Regions from separate parts of the Homo sapiens genome. Here all the other regions are linked to region 1. The links are contacts of gene promoters, found by promoter capture Hi-C in blood cells and fetal thymus (Javierre and others, 2016). All regions are on one chromosome and are shown on one strand. Each heading gives the region's core, a stretch centred on a gene start or on the middle of the fragment in contact. The rest is flanking DNA. Distances are from core to core; before and after follow the strand shown.

Region 1 (4,762 bases), core at 1,307-3,806:
GCTGCGTTAGGAACTACCCCTTTAGATGTTGCACTGCGGGGAGAGGTTGTCCAGGAGCAACTGGGGTGGGTGAGCAGTTAGGGGCTCAGGGCAGTGGCTATTTTCCAACCGGTGTGGGAAAATGTCAGTATTTTAACAATCGGCATAGCCAGACTGGTATGCACTAACTGAATACAAGGAAGTTCCTACCTTTTCTCTCCCACTTCCAATCAGCCTCAGACTCTAGAAGCCTCTAACTCACCTCATTCCACCTGCCAGAGTTCCTTCTTTAACACAGTCTCAGCCCCACCATCATAGCAGGAGCTTGTGTGGGGAGTAAGAGGAGTAACAACCGCAAGTGAGGGTCTTGGGAACTCACCGGAGCTGAGTCAGGAGTAAATGTCGTTAATGAACCCCACTGATAACACTGATCACATTTTCCAGAGAAACAGAAATATAAATGGTGGCTCTATGTTGGAATGAGTACCGCTGTTACACTGTTAGATTGATGTTTATGGGCTGGTGCAAACCTAATTACTCCTTATGATGTTGCTTCTATGAAAACAATACATTTATAAGTTTCTGTTGAACAATGTATAAGCAAGTCTTTCAGATACAAGCTCTTCTAATATGAGACTACCAGAGTGATTACAAACAAAGTATATGCATTAGGGCGGGGCGCAGTGGCTCACACCTGTAATCCCAGCACTTTGGGAGGCTGAGGTGGGCAGATCACAAGGTTAGGAGATCGAGACCATTCTGGCTAACACGGTGAAACCCCGTCTCTACTAAAAATACAAAAAAAAAAAAATTAGCTGGGCATGGTGGCGGGCGCCTGTAGTCCCAGCTACTCAGGAGGCTGAGGCAGGAGAATGGCGTGAACCCGGGAGGTGGAGCTTGCAGTGAGCTGAGATCACGCCACAGCACTCCAGCCTGGGTGACAGAGTGAGACTCTGTCTCAAAAAAACAAACAAACAACAACAACAAAAAAAAACAAAAACTGTATGCATAAATATTATAAATGCTAATAATTTATGAGACACTTCAAAATGCATATACAACACAAGAAAGACAGTTTAGTAAAAATTAGGGCAAAGGGAAAATAATGTTAGGAAAAATAAGATGAAGCCATAGATCATTTCTGGTTTTAAAATGCATGTCTAGGCTGGGCATGGTGGCTCACGCCTATAATCCCAGTACATTGGGAGGCCGAGGTGGGTGGATTGCTAGAGTCCAGGAGTTCAAGACCAGCCTAGGCAACATGGCGAAAGCCTGTCTCTACAAAAAAATACAGAAAAAAAATTAGCCAGGCATGCGGTCGTGCACCAGTGGTCCCAGCTACTTGGAGGCTACGGTGGGAGGATTGCTTGAGTCTGGGGACATAGAGGCTACAGTGAGCCATGATTGTGCCACTGCACTCTAGCCTGGGTGGCAGAGCAAGAACTTGTCTCAAAAATAAATAAATAAAAATATAATAAAATGCATGCCTAAAGGCAGGTCCTGAACTTCCTACTAACCAACACAAAGAATGCAACACACTAGTTACGTGATTCCTGAGGTTTTATTTTGGCCTTATTTTTCAGAACAACAACAACAACAATAACAACAACAAAACAATTGTCCCTAGTACTACAAGCTGAGAAAAATTCCTCCCATGGATCCTCAACAGAGGACTCTGTGCAATATAGTTACCTAACATAATGGCTAATGTTTAGTGAGAACTATTCAAGCATTTTGTCTACCTTGTTGCCTTCCCTTTCCCAAGAAGGGCTCTTCTGAGATGAGGAAACTAAGGCTCAGAGAAGTTCAGTAACTTGGCCAGGCCATACAGCTAATGAGTGGTGGTGCTGAGGCTTATTGAGTCTGTTGGTCATCTAAGTCCCTGCTGTTGACCACTGCTTTATGAACAATAACCCTGGAATAAATACAGTCAGTTCCACATGCTATTTCTTATAATGAGTTCAACAGCCAATGATAAAAATGTGTGTCAACAAAGGAGCAGGTTACCTTCAAACTGGAAGCCTAAAGCATTACTTGAAACACAACTTAAATTTCTTATATTCAATTCTTATTTTGTACTTCCTACTAGTAAATTACTAGGAATCAAAAAATATGGATGTTCTTTTTCAAGCTATAAATGTTTCTCTAGCAAATATAACAGGTCACATTTTCAAAATTCCGTGTTTTCCCTCTTATATAGATCACAGCTCTCACACAGATGATAAAGGGTTTTCTCACTGCCTGTGAGAATTAAAGTACAGTTGTCCATTATAGAAGCTTCTTTTTAAAATAGACTGCCATCTTTCATCAAATGTTTCAGCTCTGTGGAAAATAACTTAGGTTTTTTCCTACTCGCAAAAGAAATGTTTCCACTTGAAACCTGTTGGAAATATGGAATAGGCTATATAGTTCCATCAAAGAAAAGCTTATTACTTATTTGCATAGTATATTTCTTTTGTGTCAAGTTGAACAGTGGTATTAAGTGAATGCCCACAAAGCATCTTAAAGGCTAAGGAAGGATTACACTAAAGGCTAAGCTCTGAGACAGGTTTATGCACCTTGCAGGGCACTTTCCTTGGGCTTAACATCTTTTAGCCTATCTGTAGAGGATATCAGAGGGCAAAGTTTCTGTCATGAAATAGGACTAATCAACTTAGTTGAATTTGTATTTAAAGCAAGGTTAAACTGAATTAAGACCATTTTTGAAAGAATTGTCAGATGTACCTTTCAACCCGCAGCCAGAGAAGCTTCTGCAGTTGAAGGCCAGAAAGTCTTTGTATGGTTCTTCCATCTGCAATATCAAAGACAAGAAGTCTTCATAGAGGATGTAAGTATGTAACTCTACACATTGATTAGCCCAAAATTGAGGCCAGTTACTCTGAGTAAAATGTTTCACATATAAAATAAAAGGACATCTTTATCTTAAAGGAAATGCTTAGGTTTATGTGTAGACTTTACTGGCTATTACTAACAGTATGTGAGCTAATAAATTCCTACTTGACTGAAGTTACTAACGAGTAAAGATGATATACCACTCCTACCAAATAAACACTGCCTGGTCTTAGTTTTTGGAGTTTTTTAAGTGAAAGTAAAATGAAGTTTATTTAAGATAAAGTCAGTTCAAAGTTGTATGTAAATTTACTGTAGTTTTATTATCTTCAAACAGATGAAGTACCTACCTCTATGTATTACTGCTGTTTATTTACTATATATTATTATTTTAATGGCCCCCCATTACTATAGATATCTATATTCCAAAAATTGTCATGATGTATGAACCATGAAATGTCAGAGTAGAAAATTTCAGAAAAACATTGAGGAACAATCAATGATAATCATGAAATAAAATCTATATTGATATTCCTTAATTCATTCTTTAAGACTATCTAACTAAAACACCTACTATTCAGTTCCATTATATGAGTACTGCTAGAATTTCACTTTAGTCTCTACAGATTTATATATAATGGACTTTGCTTCACAATCTTTTGAAGAAAGTGAACATAATTTATACAAACTGTAGTTGCACATAAATTATATTGAGTCCAGTAGAAATTACATAATTTTGACTTCTTTAATGATGTCAAAGGTTTACCTTTTTCTTTACAATACTTGTAATTGTGCCTAGAACCTGACATTTCAAGAAGACATGGATAGGTCTAATGAAAATGAGCTTCCAGAGTAAAAAGAAATAAGAAGTGACAGCAGCCAGCACGTAACCCACTGTCTTCAATGCTTTCCAGGGTATGTGCTATGGTGAAATGCAGTTAGAAAAGTCCTAAAGCTTATGCCTTTAGGAAAAGTGAAATACATTTTAGCAGCACTGCCAAGTGCTTCGGTATGAACTGTCTTTCTAAAGTTCTCCTCCGTCCTTGGCAGAGATGGGAAGGGGAGCAAGATATGGAGGGACCCAGGAGAAGGCCTATTTGGGTTGTGCTCAGAGAGAGTTGGAGGAGATGGACTACAAAGGCCTCTGCAAAACATAAGTAGGAGGAATTACTTTGGAGTTGTTGGGGTACTGCCTAAGAGAAGGCCAAGAAAACTCGCAAGAAGCCAGGCCTGAATTGTAAAAATTGCTCTCATTTTAATTTAAGAATTTACATCTATTTATCTTACATTTATTTATCTCAGAACTGTGGAAACATTTAATTCTACTGATCTACTTTTCACATACAAAAACTTACCAGATACAGCAGTTACTTAAAAATTAATTCATTTTAATGTATGTAATCAGAAAACATGCATCATACATACCATAAATATTCTACATACGATTAGTCAAATATAGGGTTTTCCAAACTCAAATTGCACTGATTTTAATGAAAGATCACAGTATAGCCAATAACAGACAAATATAATAAAATTGGCACCCGGCTCCTGGGCACTGGGAAATCATTCCGTGAATATCTGCTGATTTGGCAAGGGCTTTAGTTCATGAAGTTCATGTCTTACTACTACTGCCCTAATCAGTTGAGACAGAATTAGCACTAGGTAAATCATCTATGTGCTGCCTGGAGGGGTTTGTTGAGGGTAAGAGTCTGAAGACAGAGATTAAGGAGTCCTCATCCTCCTAATGTGCTGGGCATCCAGGATTAGAGCTCTGGGTCAGAGAAATCCAGGCTGAATGCAGACCTAAGCACCACTGCACTCCCTCACTTTGGGATTACCAGACACGCTCTGCACTGAAAATTTATATTCCAGTCTGCACTTTTACTTGAGCATTTCATCTGCTACTGCAAAGTGACCTTAGTTTACAATTTGTCTACATGTGTCTAAAATAGAA
Region 2 (4,762 bases), core at 2,189-4,688, 470 kb after region 1:
TTAAAAAGAAATTCTTTTGAAACTAAGAGCTTTCTTAATAACCGTACTTCTCAAAATCAGAGTTTTACTGTTTCAATAAATGTTCACCCTAGATTGTAAGTTTTTTGTTGTTGAGCCCTAGATTTTTTTCTACTAGTGTAAATCTGTATTCCCTCCAAGTATGGTGATAAGGGGACTGAGTCTTATTTACATTTGTACAATCACTACTTTACCTGTTGTATTTGCAGTAAGTCTTTTGAGCCCTATTAAACCTGTCAATTTTCTTGTCCTGTCAGAAAACTGAGATTTTGGCTCAAAAATGGATGTTATTAACAAAGGGGAACAATATAGATGTCTTAGTACAAAGAAAATGAAATGTAAGAGGAGATTGTCTGGAGTTCAGGGGATAGAGTGTCAAGTCTTAAATGGTTACATCTTTTTGCTAAGTGTTACTCAGAATATAGTTACAAATATGGTACTTAAATATCTAGCTGAAATTTGTTTGTCCCATGAGCTTCTCACATGAGTCTACTGGGCAATTTTATGTGAGTTTTGGTCAAAATTGGTAATCTCTTTTATCTTAGTTTTGCATAATTTATTGTTGCCATTTTATCAAATGAGTAGGAAGTAGTGAAGTATTTCAAGAAGATTGCTCAGTGGGGTTTGATACAAGAACTGCCCAGTAGCTGGGCGACATTCAGAGCTCTCTCTCTGAGGTATATAAGAAGAGCCCTGGGAGCTCCTCACTGAGCCTCCTGTGAGTCAGGACATAGCCTTGCAGTCTGCCACTGAAGCAGCCTCACCAAAGCAAAGATTCCCTGCTTTGGAAGGGTGGTGGGCAAGATAAAGTCCTCCAAAGTAGTTATAGATTATTCTTTTTCTGGAGTAAAACTTACCTGCTCAGAGTTGTTACACAGCTGTATAAAGTCCTTAATGCTTTTAATTCTCAGGTGGTTTTGAGGGAAGGAGAAGAGCCTGTGATTTTCCTTCTGTGTATCTTTTTAGTGCTTAGAAATTACTTGCCAAAAAAAAAAAAAAACACGAAATTACTTGCAAGCTGGTTATGGTTGCTTATGCCTGTAATCCTAGTGCTTTGGGAGTTGGAGGTGGGAGGGTATCACTTGAGCCCAGGAGTTCAAGACCAACTTGGCAGCATAGCAAGACCCTATCTCTAAAAAAAAATGGGTATGTGTGGTCCCAGCTACCTGGGATGCTGAGGCAGGAAGATTGCTTGAACCCAGGAGTTAGAGGTTACAGTGAGCCATGATCATACCACTACGCTCCAGCCTGGGTTACTTGCAAACTAACAAAAAATCCCTTATAATTTTGTTTGTAATGCCTAAAGTGTTGATTTTTTTCCTAAGAATTCTTTACTGTGACCTTTATTTTCTGAGTTGTAATATTGTCTGTTTTGGTTAGAAAAAAAAAAGTTTAACCACAGAAATGCATGTTACATATTTGATTTTTACTTAATTGTAATATGTAATATATGTCTTGTTTTGCTTTTACTTGTTTTCAGCTACTACTTATACATGTGTGATAAAGTGGTTGCCCCAAATGTGTCACTTACTTCTGCTGTATCCCAGTCTAAAGAGCTCACAAAGACAGAGGCAAGTAAGTCCATATCAAGACAGTCAGAGAAGGCTCACAGTAGTGGTAAACTTCAAAAAACAGTGTCTTATCCAGATGTCTCACTTGAGGAACAGGAGAAAATGGATTTAAAAACAAGTAGAGAATTATGTAGCCGTTTAGGTAAGTATTCAGAGATTATCTTTCTAAAATTAAATATCTAATGAACACATTTATTGAGCATTTTCAAACAGGCTTTTTGTTTGAGCTAAATTTTCAGATAATTGGAGCTTTTACCTTTAAAAATGCTACCCTTCAAAACTCTGGGTGATTTATTTTAATCTCAGTTGCTATACTTTTCTAGCGTGGTGATAGCTCAGGAGACTGAGATAGATACAGGCTACCTGGCCTCAGACTGCAAGTTATTTTTGTCCGAATTTTTTTCCTTTCCTACCTTTTATTTGCTGTCAGTCTTCAGGAGATCCTTGTTTTTCTTTCCTCCTTTTTTTTTCTTTTTTTGTGACAGAGTCTTTATCGCCTAGGCTGAAGTGCAGTGGTGAGATTGCGGTCACTGCAGCCTCAACCTTTGGGCTCAAGTGATCCTCCCACCTCACCCTCCCTAGTAGCTGGGACCAGAGGCGCACACCACTGTGCCTGGCTAATTAAAAAAAAAAATTTTTTTTTTTTTTTTTGTAGAGATGGTCTTGGTATGTTGCTCAAGCTGGTCTCGAACTCCTGGGCTCAAGTGATCCTCCTGCCTTGGCCTCTCAAAGTGTTGGGATTACAGTTGTGAGCCACCGCACCCAACCTTTATTTTTCTTTCTGATTTGCCATGAACTGAGACACCATTTAATAATAAGAAGTATTATGTAAGTAAGAGTAGTTAGGTATAGAACTCAAGGAAGCTTAGTTATGGAATAAAGCAAGGATTGAAAGCTCTGGGGGCCAGGCATATAGCATAAATGTGGAATATTGACTGGTCATTTAAAAGAAAAATAGCTGGTTACTTACCGTGCCTTTTAAAATACTGTGGATTAAATGAGACATGTCTGCAGATATTGCCTGTGTTACCATCCATATAGCAGCACAGCTTTGCTTAGTGATTAGGCAGTGTGACAGTTACTTTAGCTGCATTGGAACAGTTGGAGGGTCCTCTATTTATTTAAGTTTTTATAGAGAATTGAGATTCTTGGGGGTTTTCTTTTCTTTCTTTCTTTCTTTTTTTTCTTTTTTTTTTTTGAGGAGTTTCACTCTTGTTGCCCAGGCTGGAGTAAAATGGTGAGATCTCAGCTCACCGCAACCTCCACCTCCCAGATTCTCCTGCCTCAGCCTCCTGAGTAGCTGAGATTACAGGCATGCACCACCACACCCCGCTAATTTTGTATTTTTAGTAGAGACGGGTTTTCTCCATGTTGGTCAGGCTGGTCTTGAACTCCTGACCTCAGGTGATCCGCCTGCCTCGGCCTCCCAACCAAAGTGCTGGGATTCCAGGCGTGAGCCACCACGCCTGGCTGATTCTTGGGTGGGGGTTTTCTGGTTTTTTTGTTTGTTTGTTTGTTTGTTTGGAGACAGAGTTTCGTATTTGTTGCCCAGGCTAGAGTGCAACGGTGTGATCTCGGCTCACTGCAATCTCCGCCTCCCAGGTTCAAGTGATTCTCCTGCCTCAGCCTCCTGAGCAGCTGGGATTATAGGCATGCACCACCACGCCCGGCTAATTTTGTATTTTTAGTAGACACGGGGTTTTTCCATGTTGGTCAGTCTGGTCTCGAACTCCTGACCTCAGGTGATCCGCCTGCCTCGGCCTCCCAAAGTGCTGGGATTACAGGCGTGAGCCATCGCGCCCGGCCAGGGGTTTTCTATACATTTATTTTGAGGGTTTTTTGTTTCGTTTTTCTTTTTTAGAGACAGAGTCTCACTCTGTTGCTCTAGGCTGGTGGAGTACAGTGATGCATTCATAGCTCACCGCAGCTTCAAATTGCTGGGCTCATAGTCCTTGCACCTCAGCCTCCCTAGTAGCTAGGACTACAGGCATGTGCCACTGCGCCTGCCTCATTTTTTCATTTTTTTTGTAGAGACAGGGTCTCACTGTATTGCCCAGGCTGGCATTAAGCTCTTAGCCTCAAGTGATCCTCCTGCCTTGGCCTCCTAAAGCATTGGGATTACAGATGTGAGCCACCATGCCTGGCCAATTTTGAGATTTTTAAAACTCAGTTTTCTTCAGATTTAAATATGGTAAACAAAAATTAGTAATGACTATTATGCCATATTTACATTGTATTTTATTTCTTAAATTAATTCTAATGACTTCTAAAAAATTATTGAGATAATTTATATACCATAAAATTTACCCTTTTAAAGCCTACAATTCAGTGGTTTTTAATACATTCACAAAGTTGTGCAACCATCACAGCTAATTTAGTTCCATAATGTTTTCTTTTCTTTCTTTTTTTTTAAGATGGAGTTTCACTCTTGTCGCCCAGGCTAGAGTGCAGTGGGGTGATTTCGGCTCACTGCAAGCTCTGCCTCCCGGGTTCAAGCGATTCTCCTGCCTCAGCCTCCTGAGTAGCTGGGATTACAGGCGTGTGTCACCACGCCTGGCTAATTTTTTTGTATTATTAGTAAGAGACAGGGTTTTCGCCATGTTAGTCAGGCTGATCTTGAACTCCTGACCTTAGGTGATCCACCCGCCTCGGCCCATAATGTTTTCATCACTCCAAAAATTAACCCTATAATCCATTAGGAGTCACTCCCTGATTCTCCCTTTCTCGAAGCCTCTGGCAACCACTAATCTATTTTCTATCTTTATGGATTTGCTTATTCTGGACATTTCATATAAAAGGAATTGTACAATATGTGGCTTTTCATGTCTGGTCAAGAAGCTTATGCTTCTTTCATGAAAGATAATGTTTTCACAGTCCATGTTGTTGCATGTACCAGTACTTCTTTTTATGGCCTGATAAGATTCCATTATGTGAATATACCACATTTTTTTTATTCCTTCGTCAGTCGGACATTTGCATTGGGTCTACTTTTTGGCAATTAAGAATAATGCTGCTATAGGCCGGGCGCGGTGGCTCACGCCTGTAATCCCAGCACTTTGGGAGGCCGAGGCGGGCGGATCACGAGGTCAGGAGATCGAGACCATCCCGGCTAAAACGGTGAAACCCCGTCTCTACTAAAAAAAAAAAAAAATACAAAAAAATTAGCCGGGCGT
Region 3 (4,762 bases), core at 1,016-3,515, 310 kb after region 1:
GTGGGCGGACGGCCGCGGTTCTCCGGCAAGCGCAGGCGGCGGAGTCCCCCACGGCGCCCGAAGCGCCCCCCCGCACCCCCGGCCTCCAGCGTTGAGGCGGGGGAGTGAGGAGATGCCGACCCAGAGGGACAGCAGCACCATGTCCCACACGGTCGCAGGCGGCGGCAGCGGGGACCATTCCCACCAGGTCCGGGTGAAAGCCTACTACCGCGGGTGAGTGTCCTGGGACAGGGCGGTGGGCGGGAGGGGACAGGCCGGCTCCACTCGGCCTGGAGGAGGGGAGGGTGAGGGGCTGGAGGTGTTGTGGGCGGATTGGGCTGGGCGGGCGGGCGGCTCCGGTGACTCAGGGTGAGTGACGAAGTGATAGGGGTGGGGGCGAAGCAAGGGGATGCAGTACTGGGGGCGCCCCCAGGTATGGCGGTGCGGGGAGCCGAGGGGCCAGAGTAGGGTCCGAGAAGGAAGCTAGGGTTAGAGTAGGTGCACCTGGTGTGGACGAGAGACTCGCCTCCTGAGAGCTTTGTAGGGGCCTTGCATCCTTAAGTCTGGGTGTATTTGGGGTTGCGAGTTGAGGATTCCAAGTGATGCCTTAGTTAACTCAGTTTGCTGTGGGGATAGAAAACGGGACTTCTTCAGTTAGCTGTCCGTTTTGATTACCAGCAGGCCTAACGCCTCTGGTTCTCTGAGATATACCTCCATCCCCGTTGTGTTCACGTAGTGTATCTGCACTGCCAGTATATTAGACATAGGGGTTGTATTTAAGAATCAAGTCGATGCGTTTTCAGGGACGTGCAGTGGGTACTTACGTGTCGTCAAGATTAAGTTGCATGTGTGTAAATCAAAATTTTGTGAGCCTTTCTTTCTCAGTGTTGTTTCAACGACTACCCGATAGGGTGAGATACTGCAAGGTGAGGAGACTAGCCTAGTTACAGTTTTAAATTCTCTGATCTTCACTCCCTTACTATGGTTACAAGAAAAAACCCAGTTCTAAGTTCATTGTGTTAAATCATTTTCTATCAGTGACGCAAAGTGCCCCCCTTCCTTTAAATTCAGTTGTGGTTTGAATTTTTTTTTGAGATAATTATGTTTAGGAGCATTAGAAACGTGAAATGTTAGTGTGACCATAAAGGTTGGAGACTGAGAAGTCACAGAAAACCCAGCTACTTTGGCTTGCCTTACTGCTTGTCCAGGTAGAAGTAAATTGCTTTAAAAAACTCAAGCAGTGCTAGGTTGAAATTTTAATGCATACTTTTACATTCCTGAGAGGATCAGTGAAGATAGCAAACTCTCAAACTACCTCTCTTGTTTTGATTTCAAAGAAAATCTGAGCCCCTAAATGTTGTATTGATTTGATGTAAGGACTTTTTTTTTTATTATTATACTTTAAGTTTTAGGGTACATGTGCACAATGTGCAGGTTAGTTACATGTGTATACATGTGCCATACTGGTGTGCTGCACCCATTAACTCGTCATTTACATTAGGTATATCTCCTAATGGTATCCCTCCCCCCTCCCCCCACCCCACAACAGTCCCCAGGGTGTGATGTTCCCCTTCCTGTGTCCATGTGTTCTCATTGTTCAATTCCCATCTGTGAGTGAGAACATGCGGTGTTTGGTTTTTTGTCCTTGATGTAAGGACTTTTAAATTTGCTGCCATGAAGCCTCTGGCCTCTGTTTATTATTAGCTTGACTGTATGCAGGAGTAGTTTATTGGAGTTATATTGGACAGTATGATAACTTTGTGTTTAAGCAGGTAAAACTGATTAAGGAGGTTTTTATTTTAAATCAGTACCAAGAAACGTGTGGATATTTTTTAAAGTTTGTAGTTGTCACAAGAGCTGTTTTGACTTGAGGATGGTCAGCCATGAACTTTGCAAGGTGAGAAAAAAGCTTCCTTTGCTTTTTTTTTTTTAAACCCTTACCTGTAATTTGATGAATGAGATGTTTCACTTTATTCTTTTATTTTATTTTTGTTTGTTTGTTTTTGAGACAGGGTCTTACTCTGTTACCCATGCTGGAGTGCAGTGGCACAATCTCGGCTCACTGCATTCTCCGCCTCCCGGGTTCAAGCAATTCGCCTGCCTCAGCCTTCTGAGTAGCTGGGATTACAGGCATGTGCCACCACACCCGGCTAATTTTTGTATTTTTAGTAGAGACGGGGTTTCACCATATTGGCCAGGCATGTCTTGAACTCCTGGCCTCAAATGATGCGCTCGTCTTGGCTTCCCAAATTGCTGGGATTACAGGCATGAGCCACTGCGCCTGGCCCTAAGGCTTTCAATAAATTCTTATTAATTGAGATCATCTTCTCCAATGAGTCTATGAAAGGTAAGAAATTAGTGCTTCTATTTTCCCATTTGTATTAGTTTGACACATGTAAATAGGCCCAGTTAGTAAATGAAAATCATTGTAAACTCCTTTGAGAAGAAATCAAAGTCTTGCTGTACTTCATGAATTTAGATAGCAAATTATCTTGGCTTATTGCTCCAGTTATTAAAAAGAAGAGAATAAGGACATACAGCTTCTTTAGTGTTTGACTGCAATTTTTCCAAGACATTCAAGGTAACATTGTCTTTTAAAATCTGTGAAATTTTGCTGCGGCGCAAATAACCTCTTGCCCATTGTATACTGGTCTTTGCTCAATGAAAGCTTTCTAATGGTACCTTCATTTCAAGCCTCATTTAAAGACAATATCAGCACTCTAAATTGTACCAAATTCCTGTCCTCTGAAATTAGATGTTAAGATTATGTGTTTGTATAGTCTAAACTGATGATTGTGGTATTACATAGTCAGCTGCTCATTAATATAGATGAAGCTAAAATGAGTCACGGACAAGGATAGTTAATAAACAGGTTGGCTAACTAGAACACCTACCTGATTTTAAAATAGAAAATCCTTCCTTTATACCAAGAAATGTGAGAACATTCTGCATTTGAAAAAGTTTTCTTTTCTCTCCAATCTTCTGAAGGGCCATTATTACATAGCATTTCCTCTATCCCTCTACACTTTTCTTTTCTTTTTTTTTTTTTTAAATAGAGACAAGGTCTCACCGTGTTGCCCAGGCTAATCCCAAACTCCTGGGCTCAAGTGATCCTCCTGCCTCAGCCTCTCAAAGTGCTGGGATTACAGGTGTGAGCCACTGTACCTGGCTCCACTACCCTTTTCTAACAATATTTCTTTCCAGTGAATGTTGACTCATTTAATAGCCAGCATTTTTTTTAGTGAAAAAATTGCCCTCTCTTTTCAAAGATGTGTATAGTGTTATTATTCTGTTAAGCTTGATCTCAGTGAAAACGTGTAATCTCTCTAGATCTAATAACATTTAATTTTTTTCTAATTTTTATTTTATTTTATTTTATTTATTTATTTTTTTGGAGATGGAGTCTCGCTCTGTCACCTGGGCTGGAGTGCAGTGGCGTGATCTCGGCTCATTGCAACCTCCGCCTCCCAGGTTCAAGGGATTCTCCTGCGGCTGCCTCCCGAGTAGGTGGGACTACAGGCGCCCACCACCACGCCCAGCTAATTTTTGTATTTTAGTAGAGACGGGTTTTCACCATGTTGGCCAGGTTGGTCTCCCAACTTCTGACCTCAAGTGATCCACCCACCTCGGTCTCCCAAAGTGTTGGGATTACAGGAATGAGCCATCTTGCCCAGCCAATTTACATCTAGTTTTTAAGCAAGAGATTAATAGCACTGAAAATTCAATTTTATTGGACACCACATCTTACTTAGATGCCTTTCTCATGGCCTGCACCCGTCTTTTCCTAGCAAGGAAGCTTTTCAGTGAGGGGCCTTCAGTTATTACCTAGTGCTAGTAGTTTGGAGGAAGAGAAACAGGTTTCATTAATTAGTGATAAACTGTCAATGTATGTGCTTATCCTTATATAAAATTACTTGCTATTATGGGATAGACTTTAACAAGGCAACATCTGGACTGCTCATTTCTTTACATTATATATGTATGGAAATTTTTGCAGAAAGCTTGTGAAAGTTCTTTTTAAACCGCTGCTGTCAAGTAGTAATAACAATACAGAGGATTCCTTCTGTGCACATCTAGAAATAAAAGATTAACTCTTTGCATATTTGGAATAGCTGCTTCAGTGAAGAAGTATGTAGGATTTTTCTTACTGTGAACAAGTCTTGGCAAGACTTGTTTTTGAAAGAAATGCAAGATTATTTTAGCAATATACTTTAGTAATGGTTCTGAGGAAATACAAGTGGTATCTTGAGGGTTGGGGGGATGTTAGCTAATTGGTCTTAGAGCTTCAGCCATGGCACCTAATCCTAGGGCAGCTGATCCATAGCTTGGCCAAAGAGAGAAAAAAATAGAGCATGCTAGCCTGGTGCCAAAAAACCCAAACCAAACACAAAAAACCCTCAGAAATTTGAATGAGAAAATATGGAGATAAAATTGGTCAGCACTGGGAACTGAAGCTGGAGTTGGAGGGAGAGTCTGGCGAGGCCAGAACTGACAATGTGCAAATGAAAGATGTGAAGAAGCAGAAACTGAGGAAGCAAAGGAGAAAGGAGCAACTCTGCACAGAAAAATTCTCCCCACAGGTCCTTAGTTCATGATGGCTTTCTAATGCAACTGCAGCCCTCCTTTTACAACTTTAGTGTCTGTTTTTTTTATGATTGAAATGAGCCTAATTTAAACATAGATTTTAAAAATTCCAGTCTTGCTTAAGATTTCAAATATAACCAGAGATCATTCAAACTGAGTTTAGTAAATATTGTTGAACGTCCGTAATCCAGGCACATGA
Region 4 (4,762 bases), core at 860-3,359, 280 kb after region 1:
TAAAATAAAAATTTTGGCCAGGCACAGTGGCTCATGCCTGTAATCCCAGCACTTTGGCAGGTCGAGGCGGGTGGATCACGAGATCAGGAGTTCGAGACCAGTCTGGCCAACAGAGTGAAACCCCATCTCTACTAAAAATACAAAAAATTAGCCGGGTGTGGTGGTGTGCGCCTGTAATCCCAGCTACTCAGGAGGCTGAGGCAGGAGAATCGCGTGAACCCGGGAGGCAAAGGTTGCAGTGAGCCAAGATCATGCCATTGCACTCCAGCCGGATGACAGTGCGAGATTCTGTCTCAAAAATAAATAAGTAAAATAAAAATTTTTGGCCAGGTGAGGTGGCTCACAGTAGTCCCAGCTACTCAGAAGGCTGAGGTGGGAGGATCATTCAAACCCAGAAATTCAAGGTTGTAGGGAGCCATGATCGTGCCATTGCACTCAAGCCCGGACGAAAGAGCAAGACCCTACTATCTCAAAAATAAGTAAATAAATATTAAAAATATAAAGCTTTATATCAGTGTCATGTCAAATCTTTTTTTTTGTTAACTCGGTTTTTTGGCCTCCAAAAGTGCTGGCATTACAAACATGAGCCCCTACACCCAGCCCAGAATAAGCATTCTAAAGACCTCTTATTGTTGTAATTGTAGAATTATTCAAGGGCCTCAGCAGAAACCTTACAAGCCAGAAGGGATTGGGATCCTATCTTCAGCCTCCTTAAACTGAGTAACAGTCAGCCAAGAATTATTATTATTATTATTATTATTTTAGACAGAGTCTCGCTCTGTCGCCCAGGCTGGAGTACAGTGGCACGATCTCGGCTCACTGCAACCTCTGCCTCCTGGGTTCATGTGATTATCTTGCCTCAGCCTCAAAAGTAGCTGGGATTACAGGCATGCACCACCATGCCCTGCTAATTTTGTATTTTTAGTAGAGGCGGGATTTCACTATGTTGACCAGACTGGTCTCGAACTCCTGACCTCATGATCCACCCACCTCAGCCTCCCAAAGTGTTGGGATTACAGGCGTGAGCCACCACGCCCAGCAAGAATTTTTTTTTGAGAGGGAGTCTTGCTTTGTCACCCAGGCTGGAGTGCAGTGGCACCATCTCGGCTCACTGCAAGCTCCACCTCCTGGGTTCACGCCATTCTCCTGCCTCAGCCTCCCCAGTAACTGGGACTACAGGCACCCGCCACCACACCCAGCTAATATTTGTATTTTTAGTAGAGACGGGGTTTCACCGTATTAGCCAGGATGTTCTCGATCTCCTGACCTTGTGATCCACCCACCTCGGCCTCCCAAAGTGCTGGGATTACAGGCATGGGCCACCAAGCCCGGCCCATTAAGAATTTTTTTTTAAGGCAGGGTCTCACTCTCTTGCCCAGGCTGGAGTGGAATGGCACGATCATGGCTCACTGCAACCTCAACCTCCCTGGGCTCAGGTGACCCTCCCACTTCAGTGCATCCCACCACACATGGCTAATTTTTGTATTTTTTGTACAGATGGGGCTTCACCATGCTGCCCAGGCTGCTCTTGAACTCCTGAGCTCAAGTCATCTCCCATCTTGGCCTCCCAAAGTGCTAGGATTACAGGCATGAGCCACCACGCCCAACCTAGCCAACGATTTTGTATGTAGCAAAACTAAGTTTCATAAATAAAGGAGAAATAAAATCATTTTCAGACAAACAAATGCTTAGGGAACTTGTCACTACCAGACCAGCCCAACAAGAAATGCTAAAAGCTGTTCTAAATCCTGAAACAAAAGGCTGATATGCACTAGAGTAGAACCTCTTGATGGCATAAAACTCATGGGGCATATAAAACAATAACACAGTGAATAAAACAAAGTATCTAGGTAACAAATAACATGATGACTGGAACAGTACCTCACATCTCTCTTTTTTTTTTTGAGATGGAGTCTCACTCTGGCGCCAGGCTAGAGTACATTGGCACAATCTCGGCTTACCGCAACCTCTGACTCCCTGGTTCAAGCAATTTTCTGCCTCAGCCTCCCGAGTAGCTTGGATTACAGGTGCCTGCCACCATGCTCAGCTAATTTTTGTATTTTTAGTGGAGACGGGGTTTCCCCATGTTGGCCAGGATGGTCTCCATCTCTTGACCTCGTGATCTGCCCGCCTCAGCCTCCCAAAGTGCTGGGATTGCAGGCATGGCCTTTTTGGGTTTTTTTGTTTTTTGCAGGGAGGGGACAGGGTCTTGCTCTGTCACCTGGGCTGGAGTGCAGTGGTACAATCTTGGCTCACTGTAACCTCCACCTCCTGGGCTCAAGTGGGCTTCCCACCTCAGCCTCCTGAGTAGCTGGGACTATAGGTGTGCACCATCACACCCAGTTAAGTTTGTGTGTGTGTGTGTGTGTGTGTGTGTGTGTGTGTGTATTTTTTGTAGAGATGGGGTTTCGCCATGTTGCCCAGGCTGCTCTGGAATTCCTGGGCTCAAGTAATTCTTCCACCTCAGCTTCCCAAAGTGCTAGCATTATAGGTGTGAGCCACCACCATACCCAGCCTCAAATCTCAATATTAATGTTGAATGTAAACAGCCTAAATGCTTCACTTAAAAGATACAGATTGGCAGAATGGGTCTAAAAATTGCAAACCAAATATCTGTTGTCTTCAAGGGACTTATATAACACATAAAGATTCAGATAAACTCAAGGTAAAGGAGTGGATAAAGATATTCCATGCAAATGGAAACCCAAAGCAAGCAGGAGTAGCTATTCTTCTATCAGATAAGATAGACTTTAAAGCAACAACAGCCAGGTGTGGCAGTTCACACCTGCAATCTCAGCCCTTTGGGAGGCTGAGGCAGGAGGATCCCTTGAACCCAGGAGTTCAAGACCAGCCTAGGCAACACAGCAAGACCCTGTCTCTATGAAAAAATTTAAAAATTAGCCTGGTGTGGTGGTGTGTGCCTGCAATCCCAGCTAATGAGGAGGCTGAAGTGGGACAATCACTTGTGTGTCGTAGGTTCAGGCTGCAGTGAGCTGTGATCATCCCACTCTACTCCTGCCTGAGCAATAAAGCCAGACCCTGTCTCAATAAATAAATAAGTAAATAGCAACAACAGTAAAAAAAAAAAAAAAAAGGACAAAGAAGATAATTATATAATGATAAAAGGATCAATCCAACAAGAAGATATTACAATCCTAAATTCATATGTACCAATACTGGAGCTCTAAGATTCATAAAACATTTACTACTGGACCTAAGAAATGAGATAGACAGCAACACAATGATAGTGGGGCACTTCAACACTCCACTCGCAGCATTAGACAGATCATCAAGACAGAAAGTCGGCAAAGAAAAAAATGGATTTAAAACTACACTCTAGAACAAATGGACCTAACGGATATTTACAGAACATTCTACCAGAGAACTGCAGGATAAACATTCTTCTCTTCAGCACGTGGAACATTTTCCAAGACAGATCATATGATAGGCCACAAAATAAGTCTCAGTAAATTTTTAAAAAACTGAAATTTTATCAAGTATCTTCTCAGACCACAGTGGAATAAAACTAGAAATCAACTACAAAAGGAACCCTCAGAACCACACAAATACATGGAAATTAAACAATCTGCTCCTGAATGATTTTTGGGGTAACAATAAAATCAAAATTGAATTTTAAAAATTCTCTAAGGTTAATGATAACAGTGATACTAAGTTATCAAGCCCTCTGGGTTAAGCAAAAGCAGTGCTAAGAGGAAAGCTTATAGCACTAAATGCCTACATCAAAAAGTCTGAAAGATCACAAATTGAAAGATCACAAAAAGTCTGAAAGATCACAACCTAATGTTACACCTCAAGGAGCTGGAGAAACAAGAACAAATTAAACCAAAAGCTAGCAGAAGAAAAGAAATAACACAGATCAGAGCAGAAATTGAAACAAAAATAAACAACACAAAACATCAATGAAACAAAAATCTGGTTCTTTGAAAAGATAAACAAAATTTATAAACCATTAGCTAGATTAATCAAGAAAAGAAGAGAGAAGATTCAAATAAACTCAATTGGAAATGAAACAGAAATGACAACCGATGCCGCAGAAACAAAATATCATTCTGGACTACTATGAACACCTCTATGCACACAAACTAGAAAATCTAGAGGGAATAGATACATTCCTGGAAACATACAACCCTTCTAGATTAAATCAGGAAGAAACAGAAACCCTGAACAGATCAGTAACAAGCAGTGAGATTGAATCAGTAATTTAAAAATTGTCGGCCAGGTGCTATGGCTCACGCCTGTAACCCCAGCATATTGGGAGGCCAAGGTGGGTGGATCGCCCAAGCTCAGGAGTTCAAGACCAACCTGGGCAACATGGTGAAACCCCATCTCTACCAAAAATACAGAAAATTAGCCAGGCTTACTGGCAGATGCCTGTGGTCCCAGCTACTTGGGAGGCTGACGTGGGAGGATTGCTTGAGCATGGAAGGTAGAGGTTGAAGTGAGCCAAGATCATGCCACTGCACTCCAACCTGGGTGACAGTGAGACCCCATAACTCCCCCCACAAAAAAAATTGCCAGCAACAACAAAAAAGCCCAGGGCTAGATGGATTCATGGCAAATTCTACCAGACATTCAAAGTAGAACTGGTGCCGATCCTACTGAAACCATTCCAAAAGATTGAGAAAGAGGGAAACCTCCCTAACTCATTCTATGGAGCCTATATCACTCTGATACCAAAACTAGGAAAGGGCATAACAACAAAAAAAGAAACCCTTAAGACCAATATCCCTGATGAACATAG
Region 5 (4,762 bases), core at 1,694-4,193, 260 kb after region 1:
AATGGACCCTTTCCCACGGCTTCACTGTTATCTGGAAACCTAACTCAAAATAATCAAAACTCTGAAAACTACTAGTCTGTTACCTGATGGCTCATTATCATCACTACTTAAGAGATCTGTTACCATGCTCCCCCCCGTTTTTGGATATTGACCTAAATTTACTAAGTTACCTTGGGCATTGTAATTTTTACTGCTAGTCAAATTACTTGAGCAGAAGCTCACAACGGATAGTAAATAAAGCAAATGTAATGTATTATTCCTTTATTTTACTGGGAATCTGTTCTTCCTACTTACTTATCTTCCCCCACCAGCCATTTACAGCTTTTGGCATACTTCATGGTATAATGCTGCTGGTTTATGACAAGTAACATTAACAATGTCATATATATAAGCACAATCACTAGAATTCTAACTTCTGTGAATGTCACATACATAAAGCCATAATGAAAGACAGTTTAAAAAGATACCTTTTAATAACATGAAGGAAAAAAATTCAAAATAACATATCTATACAAATACATCCTATTGTTATTCCAGTATTTCACAGAATAAAGAATTTGTCTATATAATTTCCTTCAGTAGCCCACAAAATATTTACCACTCCTTTCCTTAATTACCATTGTATTAAAGACATCTGATGTCAATGACAAAAACTCCAGTATTAATGCTTAAGAGCTAGGTTACATTATTTAAGTTTTTCATTTAATCTAACATCTTCAAGTCATAGGGAACTTTTTAAACTAATCTTGTTCACACTCCAGGACATTCCCACGCCAAAAAAAAAAAGTCAGATCAACAGCCAGAAAAAAAAACCAAACAACAAAAAAAACCACAGCTATATGCTGACCACAGCATGTAGTTAGCAAAGACCATACCCTTAGCTGAAGAAATAGAGCACAATTCCTTAACCTTCAATTCCTTAACAACCTACAAACTATATTGTATTGGAGCCAATTTTATGAAGTATCAAAGTATTACCATTCTGGACCAGGAAAAAATATCTAGAAAGGACATTATTAGGTTCTCAACTACAGGCAGTTTGCCCCCCACCAGGAAACACCTATAGTTGTCACACTAGAGGAAGGAGAAAGACCACAAGCTGCCGGCATCTAGTAGCCAGGGATGCTGCTAAACATCCTATAAATTACACGATAGCCCCTGACAACAAAGAATTATCTGGCTCATAATGTCCATAGTGATGAGGTTGGGAAACCTGAGACAAATGATGAAATGTGAAAATGAACTGCACTGTATCAATGTTATATTTCCTGAATTTAGTAATTTTTCTGTGGCTTCAAAAAACAATAGCCTTGTTCTTAGGAAATACACATCAAAGTATTTAGGAATAAAGGAACATATCTCAACTTACAAATGACTCAGAAAAAAATATGTATACATGTAGTGGAAAAGAATGAATGATAAAGTAATGGGGCAATATGCAATAATTGATTAATCTGAGTAGAGTAGATACAGAAATTTTTTTATTATTATTGCAGTTTAAAATTATACCAAAATTAAAAGCTAAACAAGTATTACCATGCCCATAAATTTATTTTACCTGGGAAACTTGGCACAATTTCCCAATATATATGTGCAATATAGCGAATCAGCTTTCTTTTACTCCTTTCTCAAAATAAATTACCCTATCTTGAATGGATACTTGCAAATTGAACCCAAATAACTCATGTAAGCTGAAAGTATAATTTCTAAAATGTGAATTGCACAAAGTTAGAAATGCTTAGATGTCTACCAAGGACATGACATACTATTGTATATCACAGTAAATTCATGGCCAATATCCCTGCATTGTATATTTTAGGCTTTCAATACACACAGAAAGCTGAAACCACATAAGATCTGAACATGATCAGTGCAAATGGATATACAAGAAATAATACAAAAAGATTTTTTTAAGACTCAGATTTTCATAAGTTTAACATTAGTTCTGAATTCTTGAATTTTATCATTTCTATTTCTGGGCAATTGTTACTTTAAACAGCATGCAACAAATTATAATAACAGCTTCATAAATAACAACAGTTTACTTTTGGAAAACAATTCTTTAAAATTTTAAATCCAGGAAAAAAAAATTTAGGGAACTTACAGACGTTTGGGACATACTTGACTGCTGTGTGACACTTCCTGTGGGAGATGTAGATGGTCTTCCACTGGACAAACTTGCCTAAAATAGTAAGACTTTTAGAATATGTCGGTAAAAACCTGAAGTTAAGAACTTTCTGGTACCATGATAACACAAAACCACAACAATAAATGTCAAAAGGCCTATGTATGAAACAACTAATTTTATAGTCAACATGGCTTAAGCTTCGGTTAAACAGATTTTTTAAATAAGGAAAAGCTGAATGGTGAAAACAGGGGATCCAAAGACTAATCTTATTTTATTAGCTACTTTATTGTCAGTTTCACTTTATGGGTCTCTGTCATCTTTAAAGTGGAATCACTACTCCAGAGTTATGAAAAAGAAATTAGAGCTACAGCAAGAGCCAGTGAGTGGGTTTCAGTTTCCTAACTTGTATCACAAACATGTTATTTAAAAATTACACTACTAAGAAGCAACAGCTGAGAATCTGTTGGTAACAGAAATAAACCTTTTTCAGGTTCAGTCAATTGAGATCCTCCTCTGGTGAGGGGATTTAAGATTAAATCTTACACAGCTTTATTTAAATAGTACAATAGTAACAAAAATCTTTTTTAAAAACAAGCATTTAATAATGAAATCCTGTTATCAGTAGGAATAATATGATTGGATTTTAGAAAAATGGATATACCTATCTTTGTATAAAAAATTTCTGGAGAAATATGTATTAGATTGTTACTGTGGCCACCTTTGAAGAACGGGAAACAGTGATAGACAGGGAAAAGGAACAGCTTTACTTTATCTCTTATAAACAACTTAATATTGTTTGATTTTTTAATGAGTATAATTACTTATATAATTTTTTTAATCTTATTTTTAGTAAAAATACAATTTATGTAAGCCTAAGTACTCACTGTTGTACCTAGAACTTTATACACATAAACTAGCATAGCATTTCTTCAATCTGGATAAAAAGCACTGAGACAAAAGCTAGAAACAGAGTAACATAAAAAAACATATCCCCTTTTTCTCAATTAACTTCTATTCGGCAACCTATTAATATATTTCCTCCGGGAAAAATAACCACAGGACATCTGAGAACTCTGAAATAATACCCAATCTATTTATTTTCAGTAACTACCTACAGATAACAGAAACTTTGATCTCATAAACTCTTATTTTAGTCTTACCTGAACAGCAGCAAGGCTCTGAAGCTGGGAGCTGCTTAAATGCTGCTGCTGAAGAGCTGCAGTATGCAGCATCAAGTGCTGTTGTTGGGCTGCATACATTTGCTGAAGGTACTGAGCAGCTGAGCTGGGGGGCCGATGCAATGCCTGTTGAATTACCTGTGATAAGTCAATTGAACCAATGTCAAACCATAATCTCAACCTTTATCTTAATCAGAAAATCAAAGTATAAAAAAGTGGCAGTTTAAAATTTCACTGCTTTAATACATAATATCATCAAGCTTATTAACATTATTTCTTTCCTAGTTACATATCACTAGAAATCACTAACTTGTACACATTAAAACTACCCAGTGGGCCGGGCACGGTGGCTCACGCCTGTTAATTCCAGCACTTTGGGAGGCCGAGGTGGGCGGATCACAAGGTCAGGAGATCAAGACCATCCTGGCTAACATGGTGAAACCCCGTCTCTACTAAAAACACAAAAAATTAGCCAGGCATGGTGGCACATGCCTGTAGCCCCAGCTACTCGGGAGGCTGAGGCAGGAGAATCGCTTGAACCTGTGAGGTGAAGGCTGCAGTTGAGCCAAGATCATGCCACTGCACTCCAGCCTGGGCGACACAGCAAGACTCCCATCTCAAAAAAAAAAAAACAAAACAAAACCCAGTGGACAATTCGCAAAAGACAGGCCAGGCCAACTAAGCATTTCAAAAGATTTTCAATCTCACCAGTAGTCAAAAACTTACAAATTAAAACAAGATACTGTTTTCCAACTTTCAGATGGATAAAGATTTAAAAGAATACTACTACTACCTGGGGAAACCAATACTCCCATATTGCTAGTAAAAATTCAAGTTGGCATAACCTTTTTGGATAAAACTTCGTAGAATTCAGGGCTTGGGTGTGGAGAGAAATACCTTTACCATGCAACCATAACAAATAGTAATGTAGATCAGTGCTGTCCTATACAGTAACAACTAGTCACATGTGCCTACTGAGCACTTAAAATGTGGTTAGTGCAACTAAAGAATTGAGTTAATTTTAAATTGAATTTTAATTAATTTTAATTTTAATGTAAACAGCCACAAGTAACTACTGGCCACTATAGTGTACATTGCTGATACCGATCTATATTTACTAACAAAAAGAAAATCAGTGGGTTACAAAATAGTATATAGAGTAAGATACCATTTTTATATTAAAATATTTGAAAGAATCCACAGGAAAACTTTCAAAGACCACTGATGGGTAGCTAGATTAGAGGTGATTTTTAGCTTCTACTTCATACTCTTCTATAGATGTCTGAAAATCTTACAATGAGCAGGTATTATTAATAATCATATAAAATTACAAAGCAGCTGGGCAGGTTGGCTCATGCCTGTGATCCCACCACTTTGGGAGGCCAAGGCAGGCAGGTCACCTGAGGTCAGGAGTTCAAGACTAGCCTGGCCAACATAGTGAAACCCTGTCTCTACT

Evidence for each region. Contacts are between HindIII fragments. The CHiCAGO score rates a contact against its expected background, and 5 or more counts as called.
Region 2: a contact is called between a fragment that was not itself captured here and the fragment with the promoter of SAMD7 in region 1, in 1 of 17 cell types (total B cells). The highest score is 6.3, in total B cells.
Region 3: a fragment that was not itself captured here is called in contact with the fragment with the promoter of SAMD7 in region 1 in 1 of 17 cell types (total B cells); the score reaches 5.0 in total B cells.
Region 4: a fragment that was not itself captured here is called in contact with the fragment with the promoter of SAMD7 in region 1 in 1 of 17 cell types (total B cells); the score reaches 5.0 in total B cells.
Region 5: a contact is called between a fragment that was not itself captured here and the fragment with the promoter of SAMD7 in region 1, in 2 of 17 cell types (total B cells and naive B cells). The highest score is 6.6, in total B cells.

The regions. Positions count from the first base shown.
Region 1 is chr3:169,909,016-169,913,777 of GRCh38, forward strand. SAMD7 (sterile alpha motif domain containing 7) reads left to right here and starts at 2,557. Exons shown (of 9, transcript NM_001304366.2): 1 at 2,557-2,806. The HindIII fragment of the contact is 322 bases long and covers 2,403-2,724 here.
Region 2 is chr3:170,383,035-170,387,796 of GRCh38, forward strand. It overlaps SKIL (SKI like proto-oncogene), which reads left to right. Exons shown (of 7, transcript NM_005414.5): 4 at 1,499-1,731. Among named protein-coding and RNA genes, the nearest start is that of SKIL, 28 kb to the left of the region's middle. RefSeq lists a silencer at 1,483-1,683. The HindIII fragment of the contact is 1,974 bases long and covers 2,452-4,425 here.
Region 3 is chr3:170,222,558-170,227,319 of GRCh38, forward strand. It overlaps PRKCI (protein kinase C iota), which reads left to right. Exons shown (of 18, transcript NM_002740.6): 1 at 1-213. The coding sequence starts at 113. Among named protein-coding and RNA genes, the nearest start is that of PRKCI, 2.5 kb to the left of the region's middle. RefSeq lists a silencer at 1-227. The HindIII fragment of the contact is 759 bases long and covers 1,887-2,645 here.
Region 4 is chr3:170,190,722-170,195,483 of GRCh38, forward strand. No RefSeq gene overlaps it. Among named protein-coding and RNA genes, the nearest start is that of PHC3, 11 kb to the left of the region's middle. The HindIII fragment of the contact is 3,214 bases long and covers 503-3,716 here.
Region 5 is chr3:170,169,269-170,174,030 of GRCh38, forward strand. PHC3 (polyhomeotic homolog 3) reads right to left here. Exons shown (of 15, transcript NM_024947.4): 3 at 3,289-3,444; 4 at 2,105-2,182. Among named protein-coding and RNA genes, the nearest start is that of PHC3, 10 kb to the right of the region's middle. The HindIII fragment of the contact is 1,241 bases long and covers 2,324-3,564 here.